2 separate regions of the Homo sapiens genome follow, and region 1 is linked to region 2. The links are contacts of gene promoters, found by promoter capture Hi-C in blood cells and fetal thymus (Javierre and others, 2016). All regions are on one chromosome and are shown on one strand. Each heading gives the region's core, a stretch centred on a gene start or on the middle of the fragment in contact. The rest is flanking DNA. Distances are from core to core; before and after follow the strand shown. Region 1 overlaps DRD3 (dopamine receptor D3). Region 2 holds the start of ZBTB20-AS1 (ZBTB20 antisense RNA 1).

Evidence for each region. Contacts are between HindIII fragments. The CHiCAGO score rates a contact against its expected background, and 5 or more counts as called.
Region 1: a contact is called between a fragment that was not itself captured here and the fragment with the promoter of ZBTB20-AS1 in region 2, in 1 of 17 cell types (total CD8 T cells). The highest score is 5.1, in total CD8 T cells.

The regions. Positions count from the first base shown.
Region 1 is chr3:114,158,490-114,163,418 of GRCh38, forward strand. DRD3 (dopamine receptor D3) reads right to left here. Exons shown (of 7, transcript NM_000796.6): 3 at 1,266-1,378. Among named protein-coding and RNA genes, the nearest start is that of DRD3, 18 kb to the right of the region's middle. The HindIII fragment of the contact is 990 bases long and covers 2,221-3,210 here.
Region 2 is chr3:114,350,561-114,355,293 of GRCh38, forward strand. It overlaps ZBTB20-AS1 (ZBTB20 antisense RNA 1), which reads left to right and starts at 1,251. Exons shown (of 9, transcript NR_038993.1): 1 at 1,251-1,396. It overlaps ZBTB20 (zinc finger and BTB domain containing 20), which reads right to left. Exons shown (of 12, transcript NM_001348800.3): 11 at 1-1,318. The HindIII fragment of the contact is 4,056 bases long and covers 395-4,450 here.

The DNA.
Region 1 (4,929 bases), core at 1,466-3,965, 190 kb before region 2:
AGGACTGCAGCTGGTTTGCTTTATTATCATTACCCCAAACTCTTCTACAAGACCTAGCTCCTGATCACCTGTGACCTTCCCTGCTGTGCCCATTACAGAGTCTTGAACAAAGAGTATTCAGCTGAATTCAGTGGTCCCTGTTTGAAGGTAGCCAATGTTTATACCATAAAATAACAGTACCTAAGATAATACATAAGATAATAACAGTACCTAAGAATTGTGAAGATGAAATGAGTTAATGTGTGTCAAAGCTTAGCACAATGTGATAAATTCTCAATAAATGGCAGATCTTATTTGGGGTCACCTGTTGGAGCTATGAGGTGGATGGATGATATTACTGGGAGAAGGAGAAGAAGCGGAATGGAAAGTGGGAGGGAGAGAACTCAGAGCAGGAATGGGAGGAGGCTTTTGACTGGCAGCAAGGGCCATAGGCTTGAAAGTGACCTCCTTTCCCCCAGGGCTCTCAGTGAGGCTGGTGATGTCCCAGGGGAGCCAGGCAAATCTCAGGCTCAGGCAGAGGAAAGGGGAAAGAAGAGAGGAAGACAAAAGGAGAGGGGAAGGGAGAAACAGAGGGACCCAGAGCAAGGGTGGTGAGTCCAGGTGCTCTCAGGGATAGAAAGCAATGTTACTCAGGCAGAACACACAGAGAGAGGAGTCAAAATCACAGCAATTCACCCCAGCAACCAAAATGTAATTTTAAAAAACATACTATACTTGCTTCTCTAAGCTCTATGAGAGAAACATATAGATCACAGCCATGCTTTCTAAAATTGCCTTTCTCCCCCACTTCTCTCCTCTCTCCCCCTCAAAAATTATCCCTACACCTGCCCCTCTTTCTTTCTCTTTCTCTCTCCCACCTTCTCTCCATCTCTCCCTTCAACAAAAACAAACAAAACAACAACAGAATTTCCTACCAACCCCAGTCAGCTCACCTTTCCTCCTTCTCCCCCTCCCTAATGGGAAGCTTTCCTTCCTATTAGGAAGAAAAAAAAAACCCCAAAGGATGGTGGAAAAGCAAAACCAGAATCCTCTTCAGGGAGCTGGAGGAGAAGAAAGGCCAGGAAAGCTTATAGGGTCGTTATTTCCCACCTGTCGCAGGGGTTTCTTCTCACCTGCAAACCATACTTTAAAAGAAAAAGAGAGGAAAGAAAATGTTCCAGTGTCAAGTTCTACTTGGAGGTGACCCCAGTACCCTCAAGTGCACAATCTGTCTCTCCCCACTTCCCCAGCTTTTGGGCCACCTGGAAGGGGAATTGCAGCCCTACCTGTCTATGCTGATGGCACAGAGATTAAGGATGCTGGCTGTACACATCATGACATCCAGGGTGACAAAAACATCACAGCAAATGCGGCTGAAATTCCAGACTCCACCTGTCACCTGGGTATCAGAGACAAGGATGTTAGTGTTTACCCCAGTGAAGGAACGACAACCCAGTTGGCCCTATTTTCTTTGCTTTGCTGCCTAGTGTAGATGTTGGCACTCCTACTCCCTGTGTACCGTTGTTCCCACAGGGCAGATGGACATCAAGGGAGTGCCAGGCTATCCAAAACTGGTTGCCTAAAGAAAGGACAAGTTCACAGAATGTTAGAATGCTAATGCTGGAAGTGATCTTCCAAGTCAGTTAGTCCAGTGATTCTCAAAGTGTGGTCCACAGTGGGGTGTTTATTAAAGATGTAGATTTCTGAATCCTTCCTATACCTACTGAGTCAGAATCTTTGGCTCTTTGGTCTGTAAATCTTCTTTTTTATTTTTTTTAAATTTATTTTATTTTTTGAGATGGAGTTTTGCTCTTGTTGCCCAGGTTGGAGTGCAATGGTGCGATCTCGGCTCACCACAACCTCCACCTCCCCAGTTCAAGTGATTCTCCTGCCTCAGCCTCCCAAGTAGTTGGGAATACAGGCATGCGCCACCAAGCTGGGCTAAAATCTTCATTTTTAAATAAACACTCCTATACATACCAAGGTTTGAGAATCACTGTTGAAATTCAAACTCAGGAGGCAACTAATGCTCCTTGTGGTTAAGTGATAACTTCCTCATAGATGCTCAGCTGGTGGTAAAAGGACTTCGGTGACTACCCGATGTGTACATTGTGCCAAAACTGTCTCTCTGAAGTCCTTCACCCAGTAGAGAGCTCATCATGCACTCAAGAAATAAGCTAAGAACACATTTTTCATAAAATTTACCTCCAAAGTAAAAATCTATCTGGCTTCAGCTTGTAAAGCTTGGAAACATTCTGAAACAACATTTATGGGAATCTATGTAAAATAAGTCTGTGCCAATGTGACTGCCTTCAACACTCTCCCTCCCCACCCACATCCCAAAAACCAAAAGTGGGGAAAAGGGCTGGATTCTCTCCACTACTCAGAATTCATGAGGATGGTTTCAACCTCATGCATCTATCTATACATGTATTTCAAGCTCCATAACATCCTCTGAGTAATGCTTACAGTCAGGAATTTATATAATATCATTTATACTCTAGTATATTTCTATTTATTTTTGAAACCTTTACATACCCTAATTGAATCAGGAAGATGTGTCAGGGAGATTGACACTTTTAAAATGTCCACCAAAGGCCACTCATGGACCGCGAGGCTTTGTGCAGTTACCAGCTTCTTTCCTGGGGGGGTGGGCTGTCATTCTTGGGGACCCTAGTTCTCGGGGAGAAACCTGCCAGGCTTTGTGCCTCTGGCTGTAGCTGAGTATTCACAATACCGCTCCTGAACAGGCCCAATGGCCATTTAAGAGGAAGAAAGAGTGAAAAATGGTACAGTAGCCTCTGAAGTAGCTTCCCAATAAGAAAACAGATACTGACCAAATGACTGTGCATAAAGATAGTGCTATTCCTTCATCTGGATTTTCTCATCCAAGGATCTTCTTATATGACCAGGTCACTTTAGTGTTCATTTCTGTTTTATCCCAATAAAATAAGGTCCTAAAAGGCCGTCTTTCCTTCCCTGTCCCTGATAACTTCTTCCCATTGGATTTATTTCTTTTTTTGCATCTCATTTTATTCCTGTGCTTGGTCATCTCCAGACTGTTTTGAGAAACCCTGACCAATGATTTTTTGTTTAAAAGCAACAATGAAAATTAAAACTAGTGAAGAAGTCAAATCCAGTTATGGATTTACTGTCTCTCTTTTAGTTTGACCAATTGGCTCTATATAAATAAAGGCTGAATATGAATTTATAGGAATTCTGAGAATAAAAAGCTTTTAAAAGATTGAGACATAAGAATTCCGATCTAAAGAGTCATAATAACACAATGATTTAGGGGAACCAAGAGAATAAAAGAAGGTTTTCTTCATTACATAGGACAGTTGCATACTGTAAAAGCGTCTTGCAAAAGCTGATTTTGTATACTAAATTTTATTTCAATATTATATCTACTCTGCAGTTAATGTTTTAAATTGGGTAAAAAAACACTTTTTGGCATAATTGTGAGCACATGTTTGTTTGTGTTTTGGGCTAGAGTAGGTGAGAAAGGATAGTTAGGATAACAGCAAACTTCAGTGTTTGCTGGATATTCATTCATTCATGCACTTGTAGAGCAAATACTTGTGAAGCTCTTAGTACTTGGTTTGCAGCAGTGTATGTCATGTGTGTTGAGAGGTTTTACAAAATGTACTACAGGGCCTATCCTTAAAGAATTTACAAGATAACTGGAGAAGTAAGGCATTCATCAATAAAATACTAGAGATCATCATGATATCCTAATATTGTTAATAGGAATTAACATTTATTGAGAATTCACTGTACATGTGTTACCAACCCACATGACCCATTCCAGGAATTTCTATAACTTTGAAACTTCAGACTTTGAAAACTGAATTTGTTTTTATTGTATGTGTTCTTAAAGCTTTTTGAAGACAAGTTATACATTTACTTGATAGGGGATGGAGTTATTGTTACTTAACCAACACCAACAGGAGCAGGAAGATTTACTTGTTTGCTGCTGCACCCCCAGCTCCCAGAGCAGGGCCCAACCATGAAAATATATTCTGAAATAATAAATGACCTCTGACATAATCTGTCATAATAATAGCTAACATTTATTGAACGCTTACTAAGTGCCTGGTGTTCTGCAAAGCACTTTACATACGTGGCCTCTATTGCCGATTATAATTCTATGACAGAGGATTATTATCTTCATTGCAGAGGAAGAATCTAAAAGCTTAGAAAGAATAAGCACTTTGTCCAAGGTCACAGGGCTAGTACAGGGAGACAGAGCATTGGAATGTAGGTTGTTACACACCCTGCTATAGGGAAGTGTTAGGTGAGGAGGGATAGTTGTTGGAAAAGGGATGGAAGTGGGTAGATACTAGGGGAAAGAAGAAAACCAGGTGTTCCTCAGGGATTTTTGTGTGACAGACCATATCATCTCCTTTCTAGGGAAAGAGACACTCTCCTGATTGCCTCTATCCCAGGGTTCAAAGAATAGTGCAAGAGACAGTGGTAAGTGCTGCCTTTGGGGTTGGTGAAAGTACACAGACAGTTTTATTTAATACCCCTCCTGCTTAGCCCCCAAAGGACAAAGCCCTCAAGCTGTTCTCTGGCTTCCAGGCCCCCAATGGCCTGTCATCCCATTCTGGCTATCCTCTTTTCTTGTCTCCTGATTCTGCCATGAAAATTCTCATTCTCTCCTTGATTTCAGCTAAGAGTCAAGAAGAAAACAATCTGATTAGCTGATTAAAATAATTCCCACTAAGGTGCCATCACTTAGCCTTCCCTGGAGCTTACTCATTAAAATGAGTCTCTAATTGGTGGGACTTGTAATGAATTTTTTTTTTTCTATTGACATCCTCCATATCAAGCAACAAATAGTAAGGGATCAATAAAGTGCATCTAGGTGCCAAGAATATGCTGGTAATTCTCACACATTTTCTCATCACAACCTGAAGAGGTAAATGTGATTTTTAACTTATAGGT
Region 2 (4,733 bases), core at 1-2,500:
GTGTTGCCAGCTGTGCCAATGACCTGCGTGTTGCTGGTCAAGGTCAGAGGCATCCTCAGGTTGCTGGTGAGGGTTTCTGTCTGGCGTAAGTAGAGCTGGGTACTTGGCAATGGCTGCCCGATGGACGTGTTGACCGAAGGCTGTTGTAGGACGCTCTTGTCGGAGCTGTTGCTGACAGTGATAACAGTGCTGTCCATCTCCACTTCATTGCTTCTCTCCGGAGAGGAAGCACCTGTTTCTAGCTGGTTTGTCTGCGGACCACCCTCAGCGGGGGCTTCTGCAGCCTGCTCGGGTTGGGTGGGTTCAGCCTGGCTGTCCCGCGCCGCCCCAGGCCCAAACTGCTGCTCCACCGAGTCAGGCTCGGTGCCTATGGAGGAGCTGACGCCCGAGTCGAAGCTTTCACCTTTGGGCTCACTCTCGGTGCCCTCGGCCTGGTCTGTGTCTTCCGTGCACTCCTCGGATTCGTTGCGTTCCAGGATCTGCACCCTTTGCTGCCCGTAGTAGTCGTAATCGTCCTCCATCTCCTGCTTGATGTGGATGTTGCCCACTAGGGTCTGGATGCGCACAGGCCGGGGCTGCTTGCGGCAGTGCGTGGTCTCGGGGGTGGTGGACAGGTAGCGCTCCATCTGCTGCGAGCGCTCATGGATGCGTGTGATCCAGCTGGGGTCTTCCATGTGGTGGTCGCGGGGCAGGCCGAGCGCAGTCTCGTGGTGGCTGACCACTGCGCCGCTGTAAAAAGAGCGCTCGCCGCTGCCATTCTGCATGGAGCACGCGTAGAGTGCCGAGTAGATCCTGTCCACGCTGTGCTGTGGGTGGCTCTGCAGGTAGCCCGACTCCGTGTCGCTGCTCTGGCCTGACGTGCCTGACTCGGGAGTGCCCCGCGGCGTGTCCTGGCCCGAGTCCTGGATCCCCGGGAACACATCGCCCACGTTCTGTGACACGATGCGCGTGCACTCGTCGATGACTGTTTTGATCTGCAGGATGCTGGCGGCCGTGAGGATCTGCAGAGCTTCCGACTGCGAGACCCGTAGCACGCCGCTGTACATGAAGTCAATGAGCTTTTGCACTGACTGCACTGACACCACCGACGGGATCTCGATGTCGCTGTAGCCAAGCAGCAGTTTGTCCTGGAAGAAGGGGCTGCCGGCTGCCAGCACGCAGCGGTGTGCGCGCAGCATGCTCCCGTGGATGCGCACCGTTACGTCACAGAAGTGGCCACGGTTGCGCTGCTCGTTGAGGGTCTCGAGCACGGAATTGCTGAAGTTGTGAAGGTTGATGCTGTGAATGCGCTCGGTCATCCCCTTGCAACTGATGTCACCTGCAGCATGTCAACGCAGACACAAAACAGGGCATGGGTCAGATCTAGCTGGTTGCATTCCTAACACCTAGGTTTCAGGTGAGTAATGCTCATGGCTCCTAGAAGCACTGCCCTTACATACGCAAGTGGGGAGATGGACAGGCTGCGGCATACAAGCTGTAGGTACGATGACCTGAGGGAAAAGGACCTTGAATTTTGCTCCAATTCCGGCCTTTAGTGCCGCAGCCATTTTGGGTATCCATATTAACTCCCCAGAGCTTCGGCTGAGGTAGAGTGGCCTAATAACCAGATGATTTGTTTGCCTGCTATTCCTACAGCTTCAGCAAAGAACTGAAAGGCAAATGGAAGACTTGTTCTTATGGAACACTAAACCTCCACTTTATTTTTATTTATGTATTTATTTACTTTGCCTTCACTTTAGACAGGCCTAAGCCCAGATTCTTTGGGAAAGTTTACATTTCCCCCAACTTATCAAAGTCCCTTATTTTATTCATACACAGTGACCATATTCATAGTTAACAAATAAACCCCCTTCCTATTAAGTCATATGGCATATTATCAAAACCCACACCATGTATGCAAAAATTATTGGAAAATTCAACCCAGACTAAGATATCTACCAAACAGTCATGATCATGCTTTCCGGATGATGGATGGGCTACAGAAAGCAATCTGCTAGCTAAAGGGGCACTCCATGGCTGCTTTCTGTATCTACTCATTCTTCTTGTCATCTCTGACAACCTGTTTGAGCACTTTCTAGGGTGGTTGCATGTGATATGGAAGGTTTTCTGAATTTTCTGAGGCTTAATGAAGGAGGAATGTTAAAAAGGTCAGAGATGGCAGTTCTGACCCAGGAGACTACAGTACATTGGTGATCATATTTATTATGCAAACAGGGCACTTTCAAGAGTGAAAGAGAGCATTGTTAATAATTAGGCCAGGATAGCAGGAGTAAGCCAGAAGTGGGATATATGATCTCCTTGGGTAATAGGGTGCTTTATGTACTTGCCACAGGGAAGTATTAAACAGCTCCCAGGAGGAAGGCAACAGCTATGTGGAGGCTGCGGATAGCCTGACCCAGCGCCACCCTATAACGTAGGCTGTTATGGCAAGGGATACTATTGATAAGATTTGGATTCAGAATGAGAAAGAAAACAGGTGGCTACAGCAGTAGATCTTAGGGCTTTTCTATTTTTCTAGCTCATCTCTCAGATGGCTCTAGAGAATCCCCCTCCAAATAATTCTTCAATCAGATTCCCCATTCTTGCCTTTACAACTGAACAATCAGCTTGGGAAAGTGAAATAAGTGGGCTTTCAAAACCAAATGGCCCAAGCACTGATTGTTGGCCTGGACCCAAATCTCTCTGTCTTGTGAGAAGCCACCTGAGAGGTAACAGCCTGCAGATAGGAAGAAGGCCTACCTCCTCAAACTCTTTCCGCTCTACCTTGCGATAGAAGACTTGTTCAGGAAACTCTGAGTTCAATGAGCGTTTCTACCTTGCTTCACTCAATCACCCTCACATGGTATGAGCTTAACTTAATAAATGTTCAATAATACAATTTGCACTAATTTGTATAAGAGCATTCTTTCTCGTTCTGACTCTATCAGGTCTGTTATGTGCCTAAAATATTGTATTAGGCTACAGATTCCATCGTTTTTACTTATATAAGACAAGTTCTCTTTGCCAGATTAAAGAATTAAGGTAAATCCCCTGTAACCATGTGAACACAAAATATGGCCCCAAAAGAAGGCACAAATAACCCAGGAAGGGCTGTTCAGGAGCTCAATCAGCAGCAGACCAAATTTCAAGTTCTTGCTGAGTTCGCCATACATACATACCATGATAGTAATCACAAGATAACATTTTTTAGGGGTTACAGTTCTAACTGCTTTCTGTATATGATTTCATTTAATCTTACAGCAACCATGGGAAGTAGATGATATTATTCCCATTTTACAGATGAGGAAACTGAGGCCAGAGAAACTAAGAAACTTGCTCAAGTACACACAGGCAATTGCTGGTAGACTGGCATTTAAACCCAGGCAGTCTGGCTCTAGAGTTCACCCTCTTAACTGCTTCATTATATTGCATAGTTTGCCCTTTACTGAGGTCTGGCCCTTAGGGATCCACGGCTCTGTTGTAAAGCTGTGTGAAAGGCTTTGTCCACTACTACCTCCAGCTACTTCTATACCTATCCGTGATTTAGTGTGGCTTTTATGTTTTTAGGCTGTGATGCTTTGACATAGCCTCAGTTGTGTAACTTAAAGGACTTATTTTTTTAGATGTCACAGTGCAAGAAGTAAGACAACTAACTGGCACTATGGTTTAGGATTTTCTATATACAATTTTACTATAACCAAGGTCTCTTTCATTTAAGTAAAACAATAAGCAGTAAAACTGGTTGTGTCTGTGATCATCTCTGTGTAGGATGGATTTATTACAACATTTTTTTCTACACAAGTGAAAACACTCTTTAAACATACATTTGCTCATAACATTAGTTACAACAATAACACTAGAGATGTCATATATGACAGTTTTCTTTCAGATAATTCTGGGAAGTAGCCCTATCACAATTATCACAATAATTAGTATCCATGTAGTGTTTGACTGTGTATACAACTTTTTTACATGTAACATCTCATTTATTCCTTACAACAATCCTATGTGTGTTCTGAACAGGTTTTTTTTTGTTTTGTTTTGTTTGTTTTTTTTTTTTTTGACAGAGTCTTGCTCTGTTGCCCAGGCTGGAGTGCAGTGGCACAATCTCAGCTCACTGCAACCTTCAACTCCTGGGTTTAAGCGATTCTTGTGCCTCAGCCTCTCGAGTAGCTGGGATTACAGGCATGCACCACCACACCTGGCTAATTTTTGTATTTTTAGTAGATGAGTTTTCACCATGTTGGCCAGGCTGGTCTCAAACTCCTGACCTCAGGTGATCTGCCCGCCTCGGCCTCCCAAAGTGCTGGGATTACAGGCATGAGCCACTGTGCCCAGCCCTTCAGGACAAGTCTTATTATTGCTATTTCATATAAGAGAAAGTCGAGGCTCTCAAAATGTCTAAATGACTTGCCCAAAGTTTTGCACAGTAGCACATGGCAGTGTTGGGATTAGAAACTATGCCTCTTAAAGCTTTTTCCACTGCATAACAGTGGATCACTGAGGAATGGAACTTGAAGTGCCCAAAGATCGAGAGTTATCTTAATTCTCAGCAGAGAAAAAAGAAAGACACTGAAAGTAATGATGAAGGTTGCTTTAGAGATAAGAAATGAACACAGATAATCACACACACACACACAATTCCATGAGAAAAATCCAAACTGTTTGACCAGATTGGATTGCAAATTTTGTTCATCTAAACAATCAAGTTATCTACTGAATAGTCTGAGTTAAGACTCTTGCGATAATATTGC